3 separate regions of the Homo sapiens genome follow, and regions 1 and 2 are each linked to region 3. Evidence: promoter capture Hi-C in 16 types of primary human blood cells and fetal thymus (Javierre and others, 2016). All regions are on one chromosome and are shown on one strand. The core of a region is centred on a gene start or on the middle of the fragment in contact, and the rest is flanking DNA. Distances in the headings are between cores, read along the strand shown.

The links. Contacts are between HindIII fragments. The CHiCAGO score rates a contact against its expected background, and 5 or more counts as called.
Region 1: a contact is called between a fragment that was not itself captured here and the fragment with the promoter of STX4 in region 3, in 1 of 17 cell types (M0 macrophages). The highest score is 5.1, in M0 macrophages.
Region 2: a fragment that was not itself captured here is called in contact with the fragment with the promoter of STX4 in region 3 in 1 of 17 cell types (monocytes); the score reaches 8.2 in monocytes.

What each region holds. Positions count from the first base shown.
Region 1 is chr16:31,315,318-31,318,134 of GRCh38, forward strand. The region is part of intron 14 of ITGAM (integrin subunit alpha M); the gene reads left to right. Among named protein-coding and RNA genes, the nearest start is that of ITGAX, 38 kb to the right of the region's middle. The HindIII fragment of the contact is 2,960 bases long and covers 55-2,817 here.
Region 2 is chr16:31,296,913-31,299,688 of GRCh38, forward strand. ITGAM (integrin subunit alpha M) reads left to right here. Exons shown (of 30, transcript NM_000632.4): 13 at 602-742; 14 at 833-1,042. Among named protein-coding and RNA genes, the nearest start is that of ITGAM, 38 kb to the left of the region's middle. The HindIII fragment of the contact is 4,791 bases long and covers 1-2,776 here.
Region 3 is chr16:31,032,176-31,034,875 of GRCh38, forward strand. STX4 (syntaxin 4) reads left to right here and starts at 1,383. Exons shown (of 11, transcript NM_004604.5): 1 at 1,383-1,660; 2 at 1,838-1,939; 3 at 2,051-2,150; 4 at 2,287-2,361. The coding sequence starts at 1,631. RefSeq lists enhancers at 707-1,218, 1,731-2,241. The HindIII fragment of the contact is 4,602 bases long and covers 1-2,700 here.

The sequences.
Region 1 (2,817 bases), core at 285-2,784, 280 kb after region 3:
TGCTTGTGCTTTCAGGATCATATAAAAAAATCATTGCCCAGACCAATGTCATGAAGCTTTCCCTCTACGTTTCCTTCTAATAGTTTATAGTGTTAGATCTTACATTTAAGCCTTTAACTCACTTTTTAATTTTTTTATTTTTTAATTTAATTTTATTTTAGATGGAGTCTCTCTCTATTGCCCAGGCTGGAGTGCAGTGGCACGATCTCAGCTCACTGCAACCTCCACCTCCCGGGTCCCAGCGATTCTCCTGCCTCAGCCTCCCAAGTAGCTGGGATTACAGGCCTCCGCCACCATGCCTGGCTACTTTTTTGTATATTTAATAGAGACGGGGTTTCACCATGTTGGCCAGGCTGGTCTTGAACTCCTGATCTAAGGTAATCCACCCGCCTCAGTCTCCTAAAGTGCTGGGATTACAGGCGTGAGCCACTGCACCCGGCCCAGCACTTTTGATTTTTGTATTTGGTTTGAGATAAAGGCTCAGTTTCATTCTTTTGCCTGTGGATATCCAGTGTTCTTAACACCATTTGTTAAAAAGACTGTCCTTTCCCCATTGTATGCCCTTGGCACCTTTGTTGAAAATTAGTTGATTGTTGGCCGGGCGCGGTGGCTCATGCCTGTAATCTCAGCACTTTGGAAGGCTGAGGCGGGTGGATCATGAGGTCAGGAAATCGAGACCGTCATGGCTAACAAGGTGAAACCCCGTCTCTACTAAAAATACAAAAAATTAGCCGGGCGCGGTGGCGGGCGCCTGTAGTCCCAGCTACTCGGGAGGCTGAGGCAGGAGAATGGCGTGAACCCGGGAAGCAGAGCTTGCAGTGAGTCGAGATTGCGCCACTGCAGTCCGCAGTCCGGCCTGGGCGACAGAGCGAGACTCCGTCTCAAAAAAAAAAAAAAAAAAAAAAAAAAAAAAAAAAAAAATTAGCCAGGCATGGTGGTGGGCACCTGTAGTTCCAGCTACTCGGGAGGCTGAGGCAGGAGAATGGGGGAACCTGGGAGGAAGAGGTTGCAGTGAGCCTACATCATGCCACTGCACTCCAGCCTGGGTAACAGAGCAAGACTCCGTCTGGAAAAAAAAAAAAAAGAAAAGAAAATTAGTTGATTGTAAATGCATGGGTTCATTTCTGAGCTCTGTATTCTGTTCCATTGGTCAATGTCTCTGTTTTTATGTCAGTGTCATGCTGTTTTGCTGAGTATACCTTTGTGGTGTATTTTGATGTCAGGTAGTGTGATACCTCTACCTTTGTTGTTTATGCTCAAGATTGTCTTGGATATTTGAGGTCTTTTGTGACTTCATATTAATTTTAGTATTGTTTTTTCTATTTCTGTAAGAAATGCCATTGGGATTTTGGTAGGAATTACATTGACTCTATCGATCACTTTGAATAGTATGGACCTTTAAAAATATTCTTTCAATCCATAATATGGGATATCTTTCCATTGATTTTTGTCTTAACTTTCTTTCGTCAATGTTTTATAGTTTTAGTGTGCATATTTTTCACCTTCTTGGTTAAATTAACTTGTAAGCATTTTATTTTTTGATGCCATTGTAAATAGGATTAATTTCTTTTTCAGATAGTTTGTTGTTAGTGTATAGAAACAAATAATTTTTGTATGTTCATTTTGTATTCCATGACTTTACTAAATTTGTTTATTAAATTTGATAACTTTTTCGTAGAGTATTTATAACAAGTTTCTTATATATAAGATCATGTCAATTGCAAACAGGGACAATTTTTTTTTCTTTATTTCTAACTTGAATGCATTTCTTATCTTTTTCTTGCCCAATTGCTCTGGCTAGGACTTTCAGTACTGTGTTGAAATAGAAGTGGTGAGTGTGGGCATCCTTGCCTTGTTCCTAATTTTAGTGGTAAAATCAAATTTTCACCACTGGGTATGATGTTAACTAGACACTTTTTTTAATGTTCTTTATCATGTTGATGTAATTTCCCTGTATTTCTAGTTTGTTGAGGGTTTTTAATCATGAGTGGCTATTCCTGTGGCCTGAATGTTTGTGTCCTCCCCAGATTCATATGTTGAAGCCTAATTCCTTGTGTGATGGTATTTGTAGATGGGACCTTTGGAAGGTGTTTAGGTCATGAGAGTGTGGCCATCATTAATAGGATTAGTGCCCTTAGACAAAAGCAAAATGATGGTTGCCTATGAACCAGAAAATAGGCTCTCACCAGATATTGAATCTGCTTGCACCTTGATTTTGGATGTCACAAGTCTTCAGAACTATGAGAAATAAATTTCTATTGCTTATAACCCATCCAGTCTATGTTATTTGTTATACCAAATAAGCTAAGACAGATGTTTAGTTTTATTAAATGCTTTCTTTTCTTATTGATAAGATCATGTTATTTTTATTCCTTATTCTGTTAATGTGGTGCATCACATTTATTGATTTGCATATGTTGAGCCATCCTTGCATGCCAGGAATAAAGCCCACATGGTCATGGCGTATGACCCTTTTGTGCTATTGAATTCAGTTTGCTAGTATTTTATTTAGGATTTTGGATCTATGTTCAATAGGGAAATTGGCATGTAGTGATCTTTTCTCATGGTGTGTTTGTTGGGATTTAGTGTCAGGATAGTGCTTGCCTCATACAATAAGTTTGGAAGTATTCCCTCCTCTTCAGTTTTTTGGATGAGTTTGAGAAGAATTCATATTAATTCTTATTTAAATGTTTGGTTGGTAGAATTTGCCTGAGAAGCCACCAGGTCCTGGGCTTTTCTTTGTTAGGAGGTCTTTGATTACTGATTCAATTTCCTTACTCATTATAGATCTGTTTAAACTTTCTATTGCCTTATGAT
Region 2 (2,776 bases), core at 45-2,544, 260 kb after region 3:
AGTTATTTTTAATCTAAGCCAGTTATTAGCCTTATTAGTCAGAGTGCCAACTTTGACTTTTTACCTCCCTAAAGATTCCCAATATATTGAAAGGGTGGTATTCTGTCTTCTCTTCTAGAATTTTCTATGTATTTTCCAACCCAAATTCTTCTTTGCTGCCTTAATAATCTCCCAGGAATACCACCTGGAGTAAATCCTCACTCACTGCCCATTGACTCTACTATAGGCTTATTTTTTATCTTTTAAATTATTAAAAAATATATATATACACTTAGAGATTGGGATCTTGCTCTGTTGCCCAAGCTGGAGTGCAGTGGTGACAAAGCTCACTGCAGCCTTAAACTCCTTGGCTCAAGGGATCCTCCCACTTCAGCCCCCCGAGGAGCTGGGATTACAGGCAGAAACCATTCTGCCAGGCTTATTATATAGGTTCCTTTAGCTGGCAGCACATTCAAGTGATAATTTATCATGAACCATATAGAAGATCACATCTGCTCCAGAGGGATTCCCCCAGCAGGCATAACTTTTCTTCAGAGAGAGAAAACCTCCACATCTGCTTTAGGTGGGAAGAGGTGTGTGATTACGGTCCTGTCTCTTTCAGATCGGCGCCTACTTCGGGGCCTCCCTCTGCTCCGTGGACGTGGACAGCAACGGCAGCACCGACCTGGTCCTCATCGGGGCCCCCCATTACTACGAGCAGACCCGAGGGGGCCAGGTGTCCGTGTGCCCCTTGCCCAGGGGGGTGAGTGGCAATGGGACCTGGGCTGGGTGGGGCCCGGTGTGGGTGGAGGGGTCGCCTGGGTTGGGGCCTGATACTGTTTGTGTTTAGCAGAGGGCTCGGTGGCAGTGTGATGCTGTTCTCTACGGGGAGCAGGGCCAACCCTGGGGCCGCTTTGGGGCAGCCCTAACAGTGCTGGGGGACGTAAATGGGGACAAGCTGACGGACGTGGCCATTGGGGCCCCAGGAGAGGAGGACAACCGGGGTGCTGTTTACCTGTTTCACGGAACCTCAGGATCTGGCATCAGCCCCTCCCATAGCCAGGTGAGACCTGGTCACTGTCCTTGTCATGACAGTAGCCTCTTTGTTGATCTTTCTCCTAATTCAGTGTGCCCACAGCTGCCAGATAAGTTCTCACAGTACTCCTTTCAGAACCTTCAAAAATAATAACATGTGGCTGGGCCTGGTGGCTGACGCCTGTAATCCCAGCACTTTGGAAGGCTGAGTTGGGAGGATTGTTTAAGCCCAGGAGCTCAAGACCAGTCAGGGCAACATGGTGAGAACCCATCTCTCCAAAAAAAAAAAAAAAAAAAAAAAATTAGCCAGGTGTGGTGGCATACACCCATGGTCCCAGCTACTCTGGAGGCTGAGGCCGGAGGATTACTTGAGCCTGGGAGGTTGAGGCTGCAGTGAGTCCTGGTCACACCACTGTACTCCAGCAGCCAGAGTGACAGAGTCAGACTTGCACATGCATGCGTGCACGTGCACACACACACACACATTCACAGAAATCTCAAAGACTCTTAGTTCCAGATTGATTATTTCTACAGCAATAGGAGGTGCATGATAGCCTCATCACCCCCACTTTACAGATGAGTAGATCAAGGCCCAGCGATGGCAAATGGCAAGCTAGCAGTATTGGGATGCAGGCATTCCTTTCTTCTGAATCTCGGTCCTGGTAAGGTGACCAAGAGCTCTAGTTTGCTTAACTCTGTCCCAGATTTAGTACTGAAATCCCACATCCTGGGAAACCTATGCGGTTGGCCACCTTACGGGATTGCACACTTCACAGATGTGGAATTGTGCAGTCACACGTGCCCCTCTCTCAGAATCGCCCTGTGCTTGGCTTAATGCTCTGCTATTGCCATCTTCAATTCTTAGTAATTTTTCAACAAGGGGTCCTACGTTTTTTTGCATTGGGTCTTGCAAAGCATGGAGCCCATCCTGATGACTTGTCACCCTATATTCTGGACCTGACAACTGTTTTGCTCTGTAAGTTGGCTTTCTGTCTCCTGCCAGGTGGAGCCCACTGTCTGGAGGGACCCTTACAGTCTGGTTCCATCTTCCCTGTTCATATTCTTTCCCACCATAGCCACCTGAGACCATCTAGTTTTCTGGCCTCTGGTCTCTGGGTTTTTGCTAGCCTTACATTTTTCTTTCTTTATGTTTAAAAATTTTTTTATTGTGGTAAGGGCACTTAACATGAGACCTATCCTCTTAACAGATTTTAAAATGTACAATGTAATACTGTCATCTATTGGTGCAATGTTGTACAGCAGACCTCTTGAACTTCATCTTGCATATTGAAAATGTATACCCATTGATTAGCAACTCCTCATTGTTCTCTAGCCTCTGGCAGCCACCATTATATTCTTTGCTTCAATGAGTTTGGCTGTTTTATTTTTTTTTAGTTTTTGAGACAAAAGTTTCAGTCTGTCGCCCAGGCTGGAGTGCAGTGGCACAATCTCGGCTCACTGCAACCTTACCTCCTGGGTTCAAGCGATTCTCCTCTCTCAGCCTCCTGAGTAGCTGGGATTACAAGCATGCACCACCATGCCTGGCTAATTTTTGTATTTTTTGTAGAGACTGGGTTTTGCCATGTTGTCCAGGCTGGTCTTGAGCTCCCGGACTCAAGTGATCCACCTGCCTTGGCCTCCCAAAGTGCTGGGATTACAGGTGTGAGCCACCGCACCCTGCCAGTTTGGCTATTTTAGATAACTCATATAAGTGAAACCACGCCGTATTCATCCTTTGGTGACTGGCTTATTTCACTTAGAA
Region 3 (2,700 bases), core at 133-2,632:
CCGGCTATGCTGAGACTTGCTGAGTGACCTTGGGGACTCCTTCTAGAGAATATAAGTTCCACGAGTGCAGGAATTTTTGTCTATTAGTCCTTGATGTATCTCCAGCCCTAGAACAGTGTTTGGCCCATACTATGTGCCCAAAAAATATCCATTAAATGACTGAATGTTGCTGTGCATGGTGGTGCATGCCTGTAATCCCAGCACTTTGGGAAGCTGAGGCAGAAGGATTGCTTAAGCCCAGGAGTTAGAGACCAGCTTGGACAACATAGTGAGACCGCATCTCGTAAAAATTTTTAAAAATAAAAAATGAGTGAATATCTAGATAGCCAGGATTAGAGAAGTGTCACAGTCAGAAAGCCTGAAGCCTAAAGAAGACCAAGGAACCAGGGGCTTTATCCTCAGATACATGAAAGCCTGAAATTCTGTCCACAAGTATTTATAGAGGGCCCGTAATGTTCTTGGTACTGGGCTAGGAACTCCCCAGATTCAGTTAAGAACAAAGTCATTACCTGGCCTCAGATGCAAGGCAGGGGCTGGGGGGTGTGAGTGGCAGGGAGGCAGCGTGATCAATACAAACACTTTTCTTAGCCTGAGCTGCCCTGACATGGTCTGACGGCTCACAAGGTGGTGAGTGCAGCCGGGCTGCAGTGTTCAAGGAGGGCGCCGGCTGGCCGCCCACCTGTCAGAGGCTGCGCCAGAAGGATGCGGAAGAAGAGATTTCTGCCTTGGCTGAGGTCACTTCCCACCCCCAGATTCCCTGCCCACACAACCCTGCAATTTTCTGACGCTGACGACTCGGATCCTATTATTTCCCGATTTTCAAGGTCCCATGATGCTGACAGCCCCAAATGCTAAGTCGTCAGTCCGCCCACGCCCTGGACCCGAAAGCAATAAAGGCGAGGTCAGCAAGGGTCCTACCACCCACTGCCTCGAAAGGCCTCTGGGGGTGGTCGGCGCGCCCCTCCCCACCTCGCGGGGGCCGTGTGGGCGTCGCTCGGTCGTTGGGGTGCCGGGGACGTCGTGATGAGAACGGCGTCCCAGAGACGGCGGTGACAGAGCCGGGACACGTGACAGTCACAGGGTCACATTCTGCGGTCCACGAGTTTGGGACCGGGCTGGTCACGTGACGCGGTGGGGGCACCATGGGGTGATGTGAGATGCGGGTGTCTCGGATTACGTACAAATGACGTATTCCTACCCCTTTTGGCAACCAGATTTCCGTTGGAAGATGCAACGGTTCCGGTGACGGTAGCAAGTTCTCGCGTCCAGGCATCTCCGCTTCCGCTCGGGGCGCAACAACTTCCGACTCCACCTTCCCAGCCTCGGGCAAGGAAGAGACGCGACCATGTGCGCATGCCCCGAATTTATCACGGAGGGGCGGGGCTGAGGCTGCGGGAGCTGGAGCGGGGAAGAAAAGGGAATTCCAACCTGTGGAACCTTGGGGGGTCCCCGGGGTCGGCGCCTTCCCATTGACTGTGGGCGGTGCAAGGGACGGAGCCTCTGGCGGCTCGTGGGGGTGTTGGGGTCCGCAGGGGGAGGGAGGGGAGTGTCAGAGTGTGAGCGGGGTACGGGAATTCCAAATTTGAGGGCCTCCCGGCTCTGGCGCCGGGGAGGGAGAGCTCAGGCCGCCATGCGGGACAGGACCCACGAGCTGAGACAGGTGAGACGCCAGGGCAGCGGGGATGGGGACGGGCGGACGAACTGGAACGCAGGACTTCTGGTCTTCGGGATAGGGAGGGGTGGCTGATGGCCAGGAAGGAAAGTCCCGGAAGCCTGTGGGTCCTGCGGGGTAAGAGCCGCAGCGAAACGGTGGTGCCAATGACTCCGGGCCTGGCAGGGGGATGACAGCTCGGACGAAGAGGACAAGGAGCGGGTCGCGCTGGTGGTGCACCCGGGCACGGCACGGCTGGGGAGCCCGGACGAGGAGTTCTTCCACAAGGTAAGGGGCTGGGGTCTCCGCCTGGATTCGCGAGGGTGTAGGAGGACCCGAGGAGTAGCGTGGTCTGGAGTACCCCATATCTCTTTCAGCCCTCTCGGTCACCCTCCCCAGGTCCGGACAATTCGGCAGACTATTGTCAAACTGGGGAATAAAGTCCAGGAGTTGGAGAAACAGCAGGTCACCATCCTGGCCACGCCCCTTCCCGAGGAGAGTGAGTGAAACCCCGGCTGCAGGGCGCATGCTCCGCCCCAGGGATTGTGGGGGTTGTAGTTCCACGCAGGTGGTGGCCAGAGTGGTTTGTTGAGGTGGGGGCTGCTGTTTGGGAGTCTTGGCCTTCTCTTATTCAGGCATGAAGCAGGAGCTGCAGAACCTGCGCGATGAGATCAAACAGCTGGGGAGGGAGATCCGCCTGCAGCTGAAGGGTGAGCTCCTGGGACCTCAGACAGATCCTTCCCTCTGATCCTGCCCTGTTGTTGGTATATCTGGGGAGTGTGTGGCCCAGAGAAGCCAGTGATATATCCAGGTCACACAGCAGGCCTGGGTCTAGCATCTGTCTCCTGGCCTCCAGGCCATTGTACTCTCCACAGCACAAGTCCGCCTCTCAGGTTCTTTTATTTACAATGAAACCATTTACTTACACAGTTATCGCTGCCCACTGGGCATTCTTTGGGCAGGGAGATGGAGTTTTGTTAGGTGGCCTCTGCATACCTATGGGAACTCAGTGATGTAATGCAAAGAAAAATAAACTTACTTTCTCCTCT